Regions from separate parts of the Homo sapiens genome. Here region 1 is linked to region 2. The links are contacts of gene promoters, found by promoter capture Hi-C in human tissues and cell types (Jung and others, 2019). All regions are on one chromosome and are shown on one strand. Each heading gives the region's core, a stretch centred on a gene start or on the middle of the fragment in contact. The rest is flanking DNA. Distances are from core to core; before and after follow the strand shown. Region 1 overlaps DZANK1 (double zinc ribbon and ankyrin repeat domains 1). Region 2 holds the start of DTD1 (D-aminoacyl-tRNA deacylase 1).

Evidence for each region. Contacts are between HindIII fragments. The study calls those that stand out against the background at their distance.
Region 1: a contact is called between a fragment that was not itself captured here and the fragment with the promoter of DTD1 in region 2, in 1 of the 25 tissues and cell types used here (liver).

The regions. Positions count from the first base shown.
Region 1 is chr20:18,391,864-18,399,068 of GRCh38, forward strand. DZANK1 (double zinc ribbon and ankyrin repeat domains 1) reads right to left here. Exons shown (of 21, transcript NM_001367614.1): 14 at 6,660-6,763; 15 at 4,609-4,683; 16 at 2,391-2,487; 17 at 1,848-1,948. The region is part of intron 1 of LOC124904877 (a long non-coding RNA gene); the gene reads left to right. Among named protein-coding and RNA genes, the nearest start is that of LINC00851, 16 kb to the left of the region's middle. The HindIII fragment of the contact is 3,303 bases long and covers 1-2,994 here.
Region 2 is chr20:18,583,573-18,590,816 of GRCh38, forward strand. It overlaps DTD1 (D-aminoacyl-tRNA deacylase 1), which reads left to right and starts at 4,482. Exons shown (of 6, transcript NM_080820.6): 1 at 4,482-4,543. The coding sequence starts at 4,501. LOC124904878 (a long non-coding RNA gene) reads right to left here and starts at 3,893. Exons shown (of 3, transcript XR_007067547.1): 1 at 3,853-3,893; 2 at 541-672. RefSeq lists enhancers at 1,653-1,947, 4,619-5,118, 4,959-5,018 and a silencer at 4,309-4,848. The HindIII fragment of the contact is 3,504 bases long and covers 2,174-5,677 here.

The sequences.
Region 1 (7,205 bases), core at 93-2,592, 190 kb before region 2:
CTTAGAACCAAGTACTCTAATCAGTAAACCCCCAGCAGGGGTCTTGGGGAGCACTTGTTTACACTGATTTCCATTCCTCATGGAAATGTGTACTAGAATGCAGTAGGCATGTCAGCTTCAGGAGGTGTGAGACCTTTACGTCTTTTGTTTAGGTTTTATTTTCAACACGTAGAACAGTGCCTGGTACACGTGTGCTCAAAAATAATCACTGAATGAGTGAACAAATGTTACAGCTTCTGATACTTATCCCCTAAGTGCAAATGAGAAAAAAAAGCCATATACAGTGGAAGATTCAGGTTATACACAGAGTAAATAGGTAGAGTCTCCCAAATTGTAAGCTGTTCAGTTTATGGAACTCTATGCTTTTATACCCAATAACAATATTTCAAACTGGGAGAAGGTGGTGAGTACAAGAAATCCTAAAATACAAAAGTTGAAACAATTCTAACATATTCTTTCCAAATGTACTGGTGTTTGTTACATACAAAGCATGTGGTGGGAAGAAAAAAAAGATAAAGAACAGAGTCCCTGCCTCCAGAGGAATCAGGAGGCAAGCTGGGCAGCTAGTGCACTGACAAGGCGGCGTTGAGGGCCTGGCCTTGGAACCACACATGGAGGGAAGCACACGGCATCATGCAAGTGTCCAGCTCGGACCCGGGCCCAGGCCTTGGGACTTGCTGCTAATCACATCTGTTCTTTGTATTGCAGCCAAGGAGGACCAATTAAAAGGCAAGGCTGGGGATGGAGCAGGTGGCATCCACTGCCCTTTTCTCCAAAGCTCCTTTTAGAACTATTCTTGGCATATATTTTTAAAACACAAAACTCTAAAGATGTGGGAAACTCTAAAACGGTACTGACCATCGGTGAATTAGTAATTTTGAGAAATTCCAAGAAGACTGAAAGTAGATGAAATCTGACAGGGAAACCAAACCAAACCAAACCAAACCAAACCAACAAAAATCCAGCTGAAGATACCAGAGGTAGGAGTGTTTTCTTTCCAGGGGAGCCCTGCAGAAGCTTAAATTAATCCATATGGAGGTTAGGTGTTGGGCGTAGCCTGAATGCATGAGTAGATTATTAAGGGCTCCGTGGTGAATAGCTGAGATCGCTAGTGCCTTACCCCTTCTTCCCCATGTAAGAAGGGCAGGAGGCTTGTGCACTTTGCCCTGATAACTATTTCGCAGAAAGCATAAGATTTGCCCAACAAAGGCTTCTACTTGGTGCACTGGGGCCCAAGAAAGGAGAAGGGCAGAGCCTAGACCTCCATGACAGACACAGGGGAGGGTGTAGAGGGAAAGGAAAAAAGCTTCATCCCAAGCTGAAACCCGTGAGAGCGCTTCACACACCAACACCCTCACCACCAGAGGAAGACCTTTTCCACCAGCAACACAGGGGATCTGAAGGCTTTCTCCTGCTCCCTGCCCACACTCCCTCCAGGGACGTCTGTCCACGACATGCCTGTCCACTCACACAGGGACTTCAGGGTCCATCCTCATGCTGGGCACCAGGCCAGCATCTGCACTACCCAACTAGTCTTCATTTGTCAAACGACCAGACAACCAAGGTTCCATATTTGAGGCAAACCAAAGTCGAAAGATAGGCAGACAGAACTGACCCCAGAGGAAACACAGAGATGATTCAGGAAACTGATGGGAACTTTGAAATAACTCTAATTCATAATCTTGAGATACTTTAAAGAAGTCTAAAGGACAAGGATGCCATGAGAAACCTCATAAAAAAGGAACAGAAAATGAGAAATTATTCTTCCATTTTAAAAAAGGTCAAAATAAAACCTGAAAATCACAGGCTGAAGACAACATCCACAAGGACCAAAAAAAGACACTTACTATAAGCTGCTCCTTCTTTTCTTGAAAAGTTTTGGTCTTGAAATTCTTTATCCTTTTGATTTTTTCAATAGTATCTGAGGTACTCTGGCTGTAGTCACTCACTGAAATGACACAGTTGGGGAAAAAAATGATGCCCCTCCCCCAACTCCCCACACAAACAGTTATTTCTTACTTCCACGTCCCTCAAAAGTCAGAGGATAAAATGGCTATCATAGAAATTTCTATTTGATTAAACCCGGCAGGAGAGACTCCTGGAGCCACTCTCCTGTCCAGGAACCAGAGGAAGGGTGGGAAGGAGAGGAAAAGAGGGACTTCGGTTTTTAGGTCCAAAAGTGCACCCCACAAATGAATTTCCCCAAGCCCTGTAAAGGACTTCAAAAGTCTCACCTCTGACTTCAGAGAAGCCAGAGAAATAAAACGTCTGGAACATAACTGCAAGATCTGTGACCGGGCTGTCAAACTCTTAGCAGTTCTCTGCTATACCTGCCAAGTCCATGTGTTCCTGGTCAGTTGTTTTAAAATTGCCAGAAGGGAATAACTCACCCCAGCTGGACCTGCTGCCGCACAGCCCCCCATCACCCTCGGCAGCACTGCTCAGAAGGTGATCGCTGAAATTCACTGCCTTGTTCAGGTAAAGGTTCTGGCCAATGAAAACATTTAAACACCATGAATGATGAGGCTGCTTTGTCCCACTAGAAAGAAGGATCTCCCTTCTAACCTGCTCCTCCTTATTAAGTACAGCTCTACCTACCCAGAGAGTGGAGCCTGAGACCTGGATGTCCTTCCTGACTCCTCCTCACCTCCCCAGCATGCTTTGTCCGTTCTGCCCCTTACCCGCGGCTCAGTCTGGCCCCTCCTCCTCTCCCTCCCTGAAGCCCCAGCCCCCTCGTCTCACATTGGGACCATCACAATAGCCTTTCAACAGGGGTCTGCCAGCCTCCCTGCATGTGGCTGTCCCAGTCACCTTTAGATCCTTTATAAGTGATTGTGTCATTTCTCTGCTTAAAGTCCTTCAATGTCTTGGAATTAGGGTGTCATGATGGGAAGGTCTCAGGCTGCCAAGTGTGAATCCTGGGTCTGCCACTTACTAACTTAGTGCCCTTGGAAGAAGCAGGTTGCTTAACTTCTCTGAGCCTCAGTTTCCTCACCTGGAAAGTGGAAATAATATGACCTACCTCAATGGCATGTCGTGAAAGCAAAATGCAGTAAAATGGGCGTCTACATAATGAGGCCAGACACAGAAGTCTGTGTGCACCCGGACTGATCCCCCTGCACCCTCACGTGGCTGCCTGCTCCTGTCCCAGGGAAGAGCCTGCTACTTCCTGAACACTAGAACATGCAGGCTAACAAAAGATTTATTAAACCTAGGGCCCAGGTGCAGTGGCTCACTTCTGTAATCCCAGCACTTTGGGAGGCTGAGGCAGGTGATCACTTGAGGCCAGGAGTTCGAGACCAGCCTGGCCAACATGGTGAAACCCCATCTCTACTAAAAATACAAAACTTAGCTGGGTGTGGTGGTGTGACCCTGTAATCCCAGCTACACAGGCAGCTGAGGAACGAGAATTGCTGGAACCCAGGAGGGGGAGGTTTGCAGTGAGCCAAGATTGTGCTACTGCACTCCAGCCTGGTTGACAGAGCAAGAATCTGTCTCAAAACAAAGCAAAACAAAACCAAACCAAAACAAAACAATGACCTGGGAACAGTTACTCCAATTCTACTTGTGAGATAGCTAGCACATTGGAGGTGCTGCTGGTGGCCTGCCCCATTCCCACTAGCTGGCCAGGTTACTCACCCCAGCTGTTGTGTAGCTGCTAAGAGCTTACTGCTGGACCTCCTTCCCCAGCAAAGTGCCCTCAGTAGGTGGATGCTGCTTTGCCCTAGAGGTCATGCTCCCTCTCCTCCTTGCCTCAACTGGGGACAACTTTGTGGTTTAATTCATTCTCCAGAGTTCCCCTTGGATCAGGCTAAAGCTCAACTTTGCTTTTGTCTACCTGCTCATTCAGTCCCTTCCCCTTCCTTGACCTGCTTCTCTCACTTCCCTTCCCCTGAAGTTCCTCTCTGACCCAAGCTCTGCTCTAGTCACAACAATTAAAAAGAGCAGTTAGTGCTTTATTTGGTTTCAAAGCACATTCATGTGCATTAGCTCGTTAGATACTCCCAGCCTCCCCATGAGTTAGACAGGGCCCATGCTTCTATCCCAATTTCAACAACACCATTAGCACCTTGCCAGGGCCTAATAAATGTTAATTTCCCTCCTTTTCCTTGGCTTCTCAATTGATTGATTAATTATTCTGACTTTTTGTCCAGTGAAACTAAAGCTGCTAATGTCAATCAATTAATGTTTGAAACACATTTACAGGCTCTGTGGCAATGCCCCCGTCACCATATAAAAGGGAAGATCAAGGACACATGGCCACAAAGTTTGGTTTATTTTATAGAAGAAAATATGTCAAAGGGCATATCAGCAAATATTTTTGTTAGTCTTTCCCCAAATCAATTATATCACAGACATGCCATCAGACTTCAGTGAGTCTGAATAAGCCTGAGAACTACAGAACAACTCCTGTTCTCACTATATCTTCATGTGCCTGTCTGAGGTTTAACTTGTTTATCTAATTCTATGAAATTGCTTGCCTCTAGTAGCATTTCATAATGTGTGAAACTTTTCCTTTCTATGGATTACACAGAAGCATTTCTATAAATTGTCTCAATTTACTAATCGGTCAGTTCTCAAATGAATAACTTCTGGAGGCTTACTCACCTTGTTTGAGACTTGACTATAATTCAGTCTGATGCTAACTTCACAACCATCTTCGTGGACAGTAGCAGAGATAAGCTTTTAAAAGAGTTGTAGAGAGAATTCATAACTGTGGGTGTGGGACTCATTGCCTTAAGTAACAGTGTACAAATTCTGAGATGTCAAACTCTAAATTTAACCAAATATTTAATTAACACAGAAGAAAGTAGGAAAAGAAAAACAGAGCAACAAAAACTAGACGAGATAAATAGAAAACAAAGAACAAAATGGCAGATCCAAATCCAACCATATCTAAACTCTACTAATTATAAATAAACTACTCTAAAGAGACTGCCAAATTGAATAAAAAGGCAAGATCCAAATCTATGCATTCTTCAAGAGATGCACTTTAATCAAACTACATGACTAGATGTTATCACCTTGGAAAAGATATCCTGGTAGGGGGCGGGGACAGGGCTTGGTAATTAAGGGACAAGTATCACAGTTGAGCAGCTTTCTGTGTAAGTAGCAATAGGAATTTAGATTAAGCCAAGGGACAAGAAATGTTTTCATGAAGGGTCAGATAGTAAATATTTTAGGTCTTGTGGACCATATGTTCTGTATTGTGAATACTTTACTGTCATAGCACAAAGCAGCCACATAAGTAAAGGAATGGGTGCAGCTGTGATCCAATAAAATTTTATTTATAAAATTGGGCAGCGGGCCAGATTTGTCTCAACCGCCACAGTTTGCAGATCTCTGGATTAGGCTGAAGAAATTCATAAACTACCAAAATAGATTATCAAAGGAAATTGGGTAATACTGGAAAATGAGATCGTCTTGATGTTGGCCTATTTGGCAGCAGAAGAGTACACAGCCTATTTCATAAAGTTCCTTCTAGTCTTGCGACAAACAGAGGAAAGGTCCTCTCACAGAGCTGTCTTTTTATAATGGCAATGTAGTATCAAAGAAAGGACATGGGACTCTGACAGGGTCCGACAGATCTGCTTCAAATCTTGAACCCCATGAGACCCAGCAGTGTAGTCTTGGGCAGGTCACCAAACCTCTCTGAGCTTCAAAATTCCTGGGTGTCAAATAAGGCTTCTTCTGACTATCAACTGCGGTGTGAAAAACCACCCCAAACTTAGTGAAATTAAACCACCACCACTTTATTATGCTATGGATTCAGAGAGGGCATAGCAGAGATAGCTTGTCTTTGCTCCACATGTCTGAGGCCTCAGCTGGAAGACTCAAATGGCTAGAGGTGGTTGGATGTCTGGGGGCGGGAATCATCTAGAGTCTAGTCACTCATGTGGCTCATGAGCAGAGATGACTCGAGGACTGGGTTCAGCTGGCGCACCTACATGCGGCCACTCCATGTAGCTTGGGCTTCTCATAGCAGGGTGGCTGAGCTCCAAGAAGTGCTGGAGGTGAGTGTGCCAAGCAAGAGAAAGCCACATGACCTTATGTGGCCAAGCCCTGGAAGTCTCATGGCATCACTTCCATCATAGTCCGTTAGTCAAACAGTCACAGACCCGCCCAGATTCAAGGTGAGGGGACACAGATTCTACCATTTGAGGGGAAGACAGTCAAGGAATTTGTGGTTATTTTTTTTAAAGTGATCACAAAGGTAATACACCTCCCTTGCAGGTTTGCTGTGAAGGCAAGAATGATGAATACAATGCTGATGCTGGGTGCACTGTAAAATGGCAGCTGTTATGTCACTATTGCTATATATTAACAGTGTATGATTTAAGTGCACGATCTGGATGGATTAAATTGTTCTGGGACCTTTCATTCTGACTGTTAGAATTTCCAATGTGACATCTGAGCATGAGATGTTCAGAATTTTATTGTCTTAGGTCAGGTGCCCCAGAAGCAGACTCTGAGACAATATTCATGTGCAAGTGATTTATTAGAGCAGAGCTCACAAGGCAGAAGAGTAAGAAAGTGTAGAAAGCAGAGCAGGAAAGGGAAAGGAGCCAGGCAAGATGCAGTTTCAGGCAAAGTCCATGGAGGGTTCCTTCAGCCTGATCCCGTGGACACTTGTGGAGTGGAAATTTCATCTCACCCACCTTTCCCATCCTGGGTTCTGCAATCAAGGCCCGGAATTCAGGGTTGTTCTGAGCATAACACCTGAGGTGAGCAGAGATGTGATCCAGCTGTCTTCTCCAGTACCCTAAGAAAGAAGAGAAACCCCGCCATCTGGATGATTCTCCTGAGACTAAGAAAGAAAAATGATAGCATGGAACATATGTTCTTAGAGAGGTTAATTTCCTTTGTCAAACTTTGTGATGGACTTTCCTTAGTGAACCTCAACTATGCTCTGGAACAAGTTCCATTTTCCTCCATAACTGCTTGTTACATGTAATTAATCATAGACTATTATAGAATTTCAAAAGAGGCCGAGCATGGTGGCTCACGCCTGTAATCCAACACTTTGGGAGGCCGAGGCAGGTGGATCACTTGAGGTCAAAAGTTCGAGACCAGCCTGGCCAACATGGTGAAACCCTGCCTCTACTAATAATATAAAAATTAGCCGAGCATGGTGGCGTGCACCTGTAGTCCCAGCTACTCAAGGGGCAGGAGAATCGCTTGAACACATGAGGCGGAGGTTGCAA
Region 2 (7,244 bases), core at 3,232-5,731:
GCGCCTGTAGGCCCAGCTACTCGGAAATAACACATTTCTTAAAAGTTTGAGCCATTTTGAGTTCCATGCAACGAAAAAACATCCCAACTGATCCAGACCTAAATATTCGTCAATAGAAAAAATTGTTTAGGGGAATTACAATGCATATATTAGCTCTTAGCATCTGCACATCTATTAATAGAGAAATACTGTAAATCCATGATACACTGTTAAGCCAAAAAATTGGCTTCTCACACTTATTCCTTTGGCAATATTACCTGAGCCCCAGGTACTGTGTTAGATGCTGAGGATTCAGTGGTAAGCATGAGAGACACAGGTAGAAGAACACAGCTTACCAGGCAAATAGACTCATTGAAAGTAGCCAGAAGATTATGAGAGAAAACCCACAGGACAAACATGAGAAAAACAGGGAGCAGGAACACCTACTTTTCTTGGTGTGGACAGAGAAGGTCTATCTGAGGAGGTGGCATTGAAGCTGAATACCTAAAGGCAGGAGAGGAGTGTGTTGTACAAAGAGTGAATGAATGTAGAGGAACCTACCTGTTCCAGGTGGAGCAAGAGCAGATCCTAAAGTCCTGAGCTAGCAACCAAAGACTATTTGAGGAATTTAAAGGTGGTCAGAGTCTGGATTGTTAAGACTTTATATTCTAAGAGCATCACTTTCATCTGTGCCTGGAGAATGGATTGGAGAAGGACAAAGGGGAGGTAGGAAGACCAGTGAGGAAGGTGTGGTAGAAATCCAAGTGGGAAAGAATGGTGGAGCAGGATGCTGCAGGAGGGATGGAGAGAAGAGGGCACTTTGGGATAGGTTTTGGAGAGGGAGAAGATTTGCTGATGGACGAGATACTTAGGGAATGGGGAAGAGAGCAATCACAGGTTACTTCTGGCTCCAGTAAACAAGTGGAGCCACTTATTTAAGTGGGGATTTTCCAGGTGCGATGGCCCATGCCTGTAATCCCAGCACTTTGGGAGGCCACGGCAGGCGGATTACTTGAGGTGAGGAGTTTGAGAACAGCCTGGCCAACATGGTGAAACCCCATCTCTACTAAAAATACAAAAATTAGCTGGGCATGGTGGCAGCACCTGTAATCCCAGCTACTCAGAAGTCTGAGGCAGGAGAATCACTTGAGCCTGGAAGGTGGAGGTTGCAGTGAGCCAGAACGAGCCATTGCACTCCAGCCTGGGTGACAGAGCGAGACTCTGTCTCCAAAAAAAAAAAAAAAAAAAAAGGTATGACTCTTATGGTGGAGTATGAAGGGCTTCGGGGTTCATTGAACACCAACTGGTGAATTGCAGTTCAACTCTGGCAGGAATCACCTGGAGTTAGAACAGATCCTGCAAGTTTAAGGGTACGTTTCCCAAAAAGATTGCCCCTATTTCAGGTGCCAACCACACTTGGGTGTCCCCAAACCACTTGCACTTCAGACCAACTGGCTACACAGTCAGGAGTATCCATGACTCCCTAGGGTTGATAATGCACTAGAATCACTCATGGAACTGAGGAAAGTGCTGTAATTATCATTTATAGTTTTATTATAAATAATACAAATTAGGACCAGTCAAATGAGATATGTTAGGCAAGGTCTGCGAGAGTACCAAACACAGAGCCTCTGTGCTTTCTCCCTGCGGAATCAGGGCCATTACCCTCCCAGCACATCAATGTGTTCAGCAACCAGGAAGCTCAATGAAGCTTCAATGTCCAGAGTCTTTCCTGGGATTTCATCATGTAAGCATGACTGATTGAATCATTGGCCACAGGTTGAACTCAATCTCTGTCTTCTACCCCTCCCACAGGTTGGGCTGGCTCAGACATCCAGTCACTATTGGTCTTTCCAGTGACCAGCTCCCAATCTGAATTGTCTTGTTAGTAAACTCAGGAATAATCAAGGAGCTCATGAATAACAAAGATACTCCTGTCTCTTGAGAAATTCCAAGAATTTTTAAAGCTCCATGCCAGAAACCCAGAATTAACAAAGGCCAAAGTCTTTATTGTACCATAGGGGTGAACATTTTGAATTCCATTTTAAGTATGTTAACTTTTTTTTTTTTTTTTGAGACACAGGTTTACTTTGTCACCCAGGCTGGAGTGCAGTGGCAGTGATCCTGGCTCACTGCAACCTCCGCCTCTCGGTTTCAAGTGATTCCTGTGCCTCAGCCTCCCAAGTAGCTGGGATTATAGGTGCCCACCATCACGCCTGGCTAATTTTTGTATTTTTAGTAGAGATGGGGTTTCACCATGTTGGCCAGGCTGGTCTTGAACTCCTGACCTCAAGTGATCCACCTGCCTCAGCCTCCCAAAGTGCTGGAATTACAGGCGTGAACCACCACGACCAGCCCAATTTTCCCTTTTTTAGTCTTATTCTTTCAGGAGTGCACAATGGAGTTTTCCAGGGGCTCCGTGACATATAGTGACTTCATTGCTCTGATATTCATATGTAGGGGATTTATTATTGCTATTTTTAAATGCATTGATAAATCCATGTTAACTATTTCTCTTAGTTAAAAACAGTAAACATTTTTAGATATAATCCACCTAAACAAAAGCTATACTTTGTGCCCAATAATTTTTAAGAATGTAAAGGGATCCTGTGATCAAAATATTGAGACCTGCTGATTTTTCAAAAACTCAAATTTTACCAGTTGTTCCAATAATAAGCTTTTCCTTTTCTTGATTTTTCTGGCCAGGATACCACCCAGGTTAATTTAGTTTTCCTGTCTTTTTTTTTTTTTTTTTTTTTTTTGAGACAGAGTCTTGCTTTGTCACCCAGGCTGGAGTGCAGTGGCACGATATCGGCTCACCGTAACCTCCGCCTCCCGGGTTCAAGCAATTTTCTTGCCTCAGCCTCCCGAGTAGCTGGGATTACAGGCATGCGCTGCCATGCCTGGCTAATTTTTGTATTTTTAGTAGAGACGGGGTTTCACCATGTTGGCCAGGCAGGCCTCGAACTCCTGACCTCCAATGATCCGCCCACCTTGACCTCCCAAAGTGCTGGGATTACAGGTAGTTTTCCTGTCTTTTAAAAAGTCCACGGCTGGGCGCAGTGGCTCATGCCTGTAATCCCAGCACTTTGGGAGGCCAAAGCGGGCAGATCACCTGAGGTCGGGAGTTCGAGACCAGCCTGACCAACATGGAGAAATCTCATCTTTAATAAAAATACAAAATTAGCCGGGCGTGGCGGCGCATGCTTGTAATCCCAGCTACTCAGGAGGTTGAGGCAGAAGAATTGCTTGAACCCAGGAGGCAGAAGTTGTGGATAGCCAAGATCACACCATTGCACTTCAGCCTGGGCCACAAGAGCAAAACTGCATCTCAAAAAAAAAAAAAAAAAAAATCCTCCTTAATTCTCGGAATCCTACCTGGTTATTTTGTAGAATGTTCCTCAATTTATTTTTGTCCTATGTTTCATCATGATTGGATTCAGGTTATACATTATTTGGCAGAAATACCACAAGATTGATGTTGTGTCCTTCCCAGTGCAATATCAGGAGGCACATGATGTCTTGTTACTGGTTATGTTAACTTTGACAACGTTATTAAGGCAATTTAGTATTCAGTATTTAACAAACAAGCACACTAGTTTGTAGTCTTTTCTGGGCAAGTGAGGGTTTCTTCTCAATTTCAGTGCCTTTTCTACGCCCACCAATGCTATTAGTCACCTTTAAGGTGAAGACTGCTGAGATGGAATTATTTTTAGCAATGATAATAATTTGTTGGGGTAATAGTTGTACAGCCCTTTGCTGCCATCTAAGCACTTTTACGTGGTTTGGTTCATTTAAATCTAACAACCCAGTGAGGGGGCCAATTAGTAGCATTTATATTACATGAGAAATTAGAATTCTAGAATCACATACCTATTTATTATCATGACATGGCTAAGTCGAATTAATAGTGAGATAGGTAAATGGCTATTTTAGGCAGCAGATCCTTTTGTATGTGGTATCTGAAAAGCCACTGAGGCAGGAAGACAAGGAAGAAGAATTTGGGAGGATCTGCGTGCAGAGGAGTGGAAGAGGAAAGAGGAATACAATTAGAAATAGGATTCAGGCTGAATTTAAAGGCTTAGTGATGACGGGTTCTTAGGTTCGGGTATGTGGGAGAAAAAAACCAGCATAGAGACTACCTTCGGGGCAGAGTGGGTTCTGGGCACTGGGTAGGGGCTGGGCCCGGGATGGGGGGATCAAAGGGCTCTGGCGGGACCCAGATGTGGATGGGGCAGGGCCGAGCGTGGGGACTGGGCTTTTCAATGACGGGCGGGGTTACGGTTGGGCAGCAGGTGGGCGTGGCAGGCATAGGCGGAGTCAATCTATGAGTGGGTGGGCCTATCGCCAGGCCGAGAGTGGGCGTGGCCGACGTGGGGTGGGTAGCAGCCGACCGAGTCGGACCGGCCAGTTGGGCGCGCTTCCGGGTGTCACCTCCAGAGGGCGCCGGCTGCGGAGCCGCCCTCAGAGTCGCGAGGCCGGACGCAGCGCGGCGCCGCCCCACTCGCCCCAGCCGCCGCCATGAAGGCCGTGGTGCAGCGCGTCACCCGGGCCAGCGTCACAGGTCAGTCGGGCGGGGCCGGGCCCGGGAGGAGCCGCCCCTGACCCCCGCGACCGGCTGTCTTGCGTGGGGGGTCTTCCTGCGCCATCCTTGGGGCCGCTGCGGCCCCTCCGCGAGCCTGGTCCCCTTCGCGAGCTCGGTCCGCGCAGCCGCGAGTCCCCAGGGCCGGCTTCGGGGCAGCGCGGCGGCCGGAGAGCCCCCTGCACGTGCCCGACCGGCCCCGGCGCGCCCCTGGCTTCCGGCTCTCGGCAGAGGGTGCAGGACCAGCGCGCCTCATTCTCAGCACCTTTGTCCTGCGTGCGGGATGGCGGAGCCTCGGAGCATCTCCGTGGTCCGCTCTTCAGGGAGTGTTGATGAACCACGCTTAGAGCATTTCCGGAGCAGGCACTCCTCCCTTTTCACTGCTGTATTTTAAATGTTCAATTTTTGCCCATTTTTACGTATTCCAATTTTTATGGGGCTTGACTCAGGATGAAATGCACAGATGCGGAGAGTTGCTCCTTGGGCTGAGCTTTGACAGTTGCGTGCACGTACGTGACTGGAGCCTAGGCTGGATGAGGGGCGCCCCCTGCCCAGGACGCCCCTCGCCCTCGCCCGCTGAACTCTGCGCGGAGGGGTCGGGATCTAAAGAATTCAAGATGAAAACATTTCTCTTTTTCTTGTGGACCAAGCTACCCGACCCCTGGTCATCACTCAGCACTTTCGTCTCGGTTGGGCATCAGAGGTCCAGATGATTAGTGTAGATAAAGTAGTCGTTTTAAGAAAACCACGGTACGAAAGATATTTTTTAAAAAACATTTAAATGACAAGCTTTATATTGTCTTTAGTCTTTTCTGTCTTTATTGGCACAACTATATTGTTTCAGTTCAAATAATTTCAGATATCCTGTCCTTGGAGCCAGTCTGCACCAAATATGCGTTCTTGTGTCCACAAAAGTATGAATTAAAAACAAAACAGGCCGGGGGCTGTGGCTCACACCTGTAATCCCAGCTCTTTGGGAGGCCAAGGCGGGCAGATCACCTGAGGCCAGGAGTTCGAGACCAGCCTGGCCAACATAGAGAAACCCTATCTCTACTACAAATACAAAAATTAGCCGGGAGCGGTGGTTGGTGCCTATAATCCCAGCTACTCGGGAGGCTGAGGTAGGAGAATCGCTTGAACCCGGGAGGCAGAGGTTGCAGTGAGCCGAGATTGTGCCAGTAACCTCCAGCCTGGGCGACAGAGCGAGACTCTGTCTCAAAAAACAACAAACAAACAAAACCCCAAAACAAAAAACAAAACAAAACAAAAACAACAAAAAACCCTAAAGAAACAACCAAACCCACCAAAACCGTATATTTAAATCTAAGAGTCTATTTTTCAACCCCGCCTAATGATTTCTAAGCTGTTCTGGTAGCTTTGGTTTTGGAAATGGTCCTGGAATAATAGGGAATAGAGTAGCACTGGGATTTAGGAATTTTAAAGCTTTTATAACATTTCTGTAGATATTTAAATTCATGAAAACTGGGAAAATTCATAGATGAAAGATGTTTTGCATTATTGAGAAGAACCTTGCAGTCTGCTGCTGTGTGTGGTCGTCACTGACAGATTTAAATTTTGATCTCTCTCCTGAACTCTCCATCCTGCTAATCTGGAATATTGAAAATGTGTATTCTGTGAGATGTGCTGAATAAGAGTTTGGGTTATTTTGGTTCACTATTTAAGTTATATGCTTTCAGTTAAAACAACCAAACCTGCATATTAAAAAAGATAAGGGTGTTAATTATGGGAAAGTGTAAATAATTCGGGAATTCTGGGTTGGGGAACTGTGGAATTCTGTTAGAAGGGCCCTCCACTTATGCAGGCCTTCTAGTTGCATTGTAATGGAAAGGGATTTTCTGATTCCTTTAAAATGTGGCTGGTTTCACTGAAATGTGGCTGTGTTTGAATGGCATTTTATTTTAGGGGTTCTAAAATGTTAACTTCCTGTTTTATGGTCAGGACAGCATAGATTATCAGGAGTCACACATTTTATTTTATTTTAAAATAGTTGGTTGACTTCACATTTATTTTAAATTTATGCATTTATGGTTTGTTTGTTTTAGAGATGGGGTCTTGCTCTGTCACCCAGGCTGGAGTGCAGTGGCACTATTATAGCTTACTACAACCTCAAACGCTTGGGCTCAAGTGATCCTTTAGTTTCAGCATCCTGAGTAGTTAGACTACAGGCGTGTGCCGCCACCGCTATGTCCAGCTTAGGAGTCACACATTTTACTATGTGGTATATTCAATTTATGTGATTGGTCAAACACATTTTTTTTTATAGTAACCCTGTAATATCATTTGATGCCCAGTCCATCAGATTTCTCCAATTGGCTAATTGGTTTTGTTTTTGTTTTGAGAGAGTCTTGCTCTGTTGCCGAGGCTGGAGTACAGTGGTGCCATCTCTGATCACTGCAGCCTCTGCCTCCTGGGTTCAAGCGATTCTCATGCCTCTGTGTCCTGAGTAGCTGGTCTTACAGGTGCGCGCCACTGTGCCTGGCTAATTTTTTTGTATTTTTAGTGGAGACAGGGTTTTGCCATGTTGACTAGGCTGGTCTCAAATTCCTGGCCTCAAGTGATTTGCCTGCCTCGGCTTCCCAAAGTGCTGGGATTACAGGCATGAGCCACTGCACCCAGCTTGATCAAACACATTTTGATGCCTTAGGTTGGGTACTGTGATAAT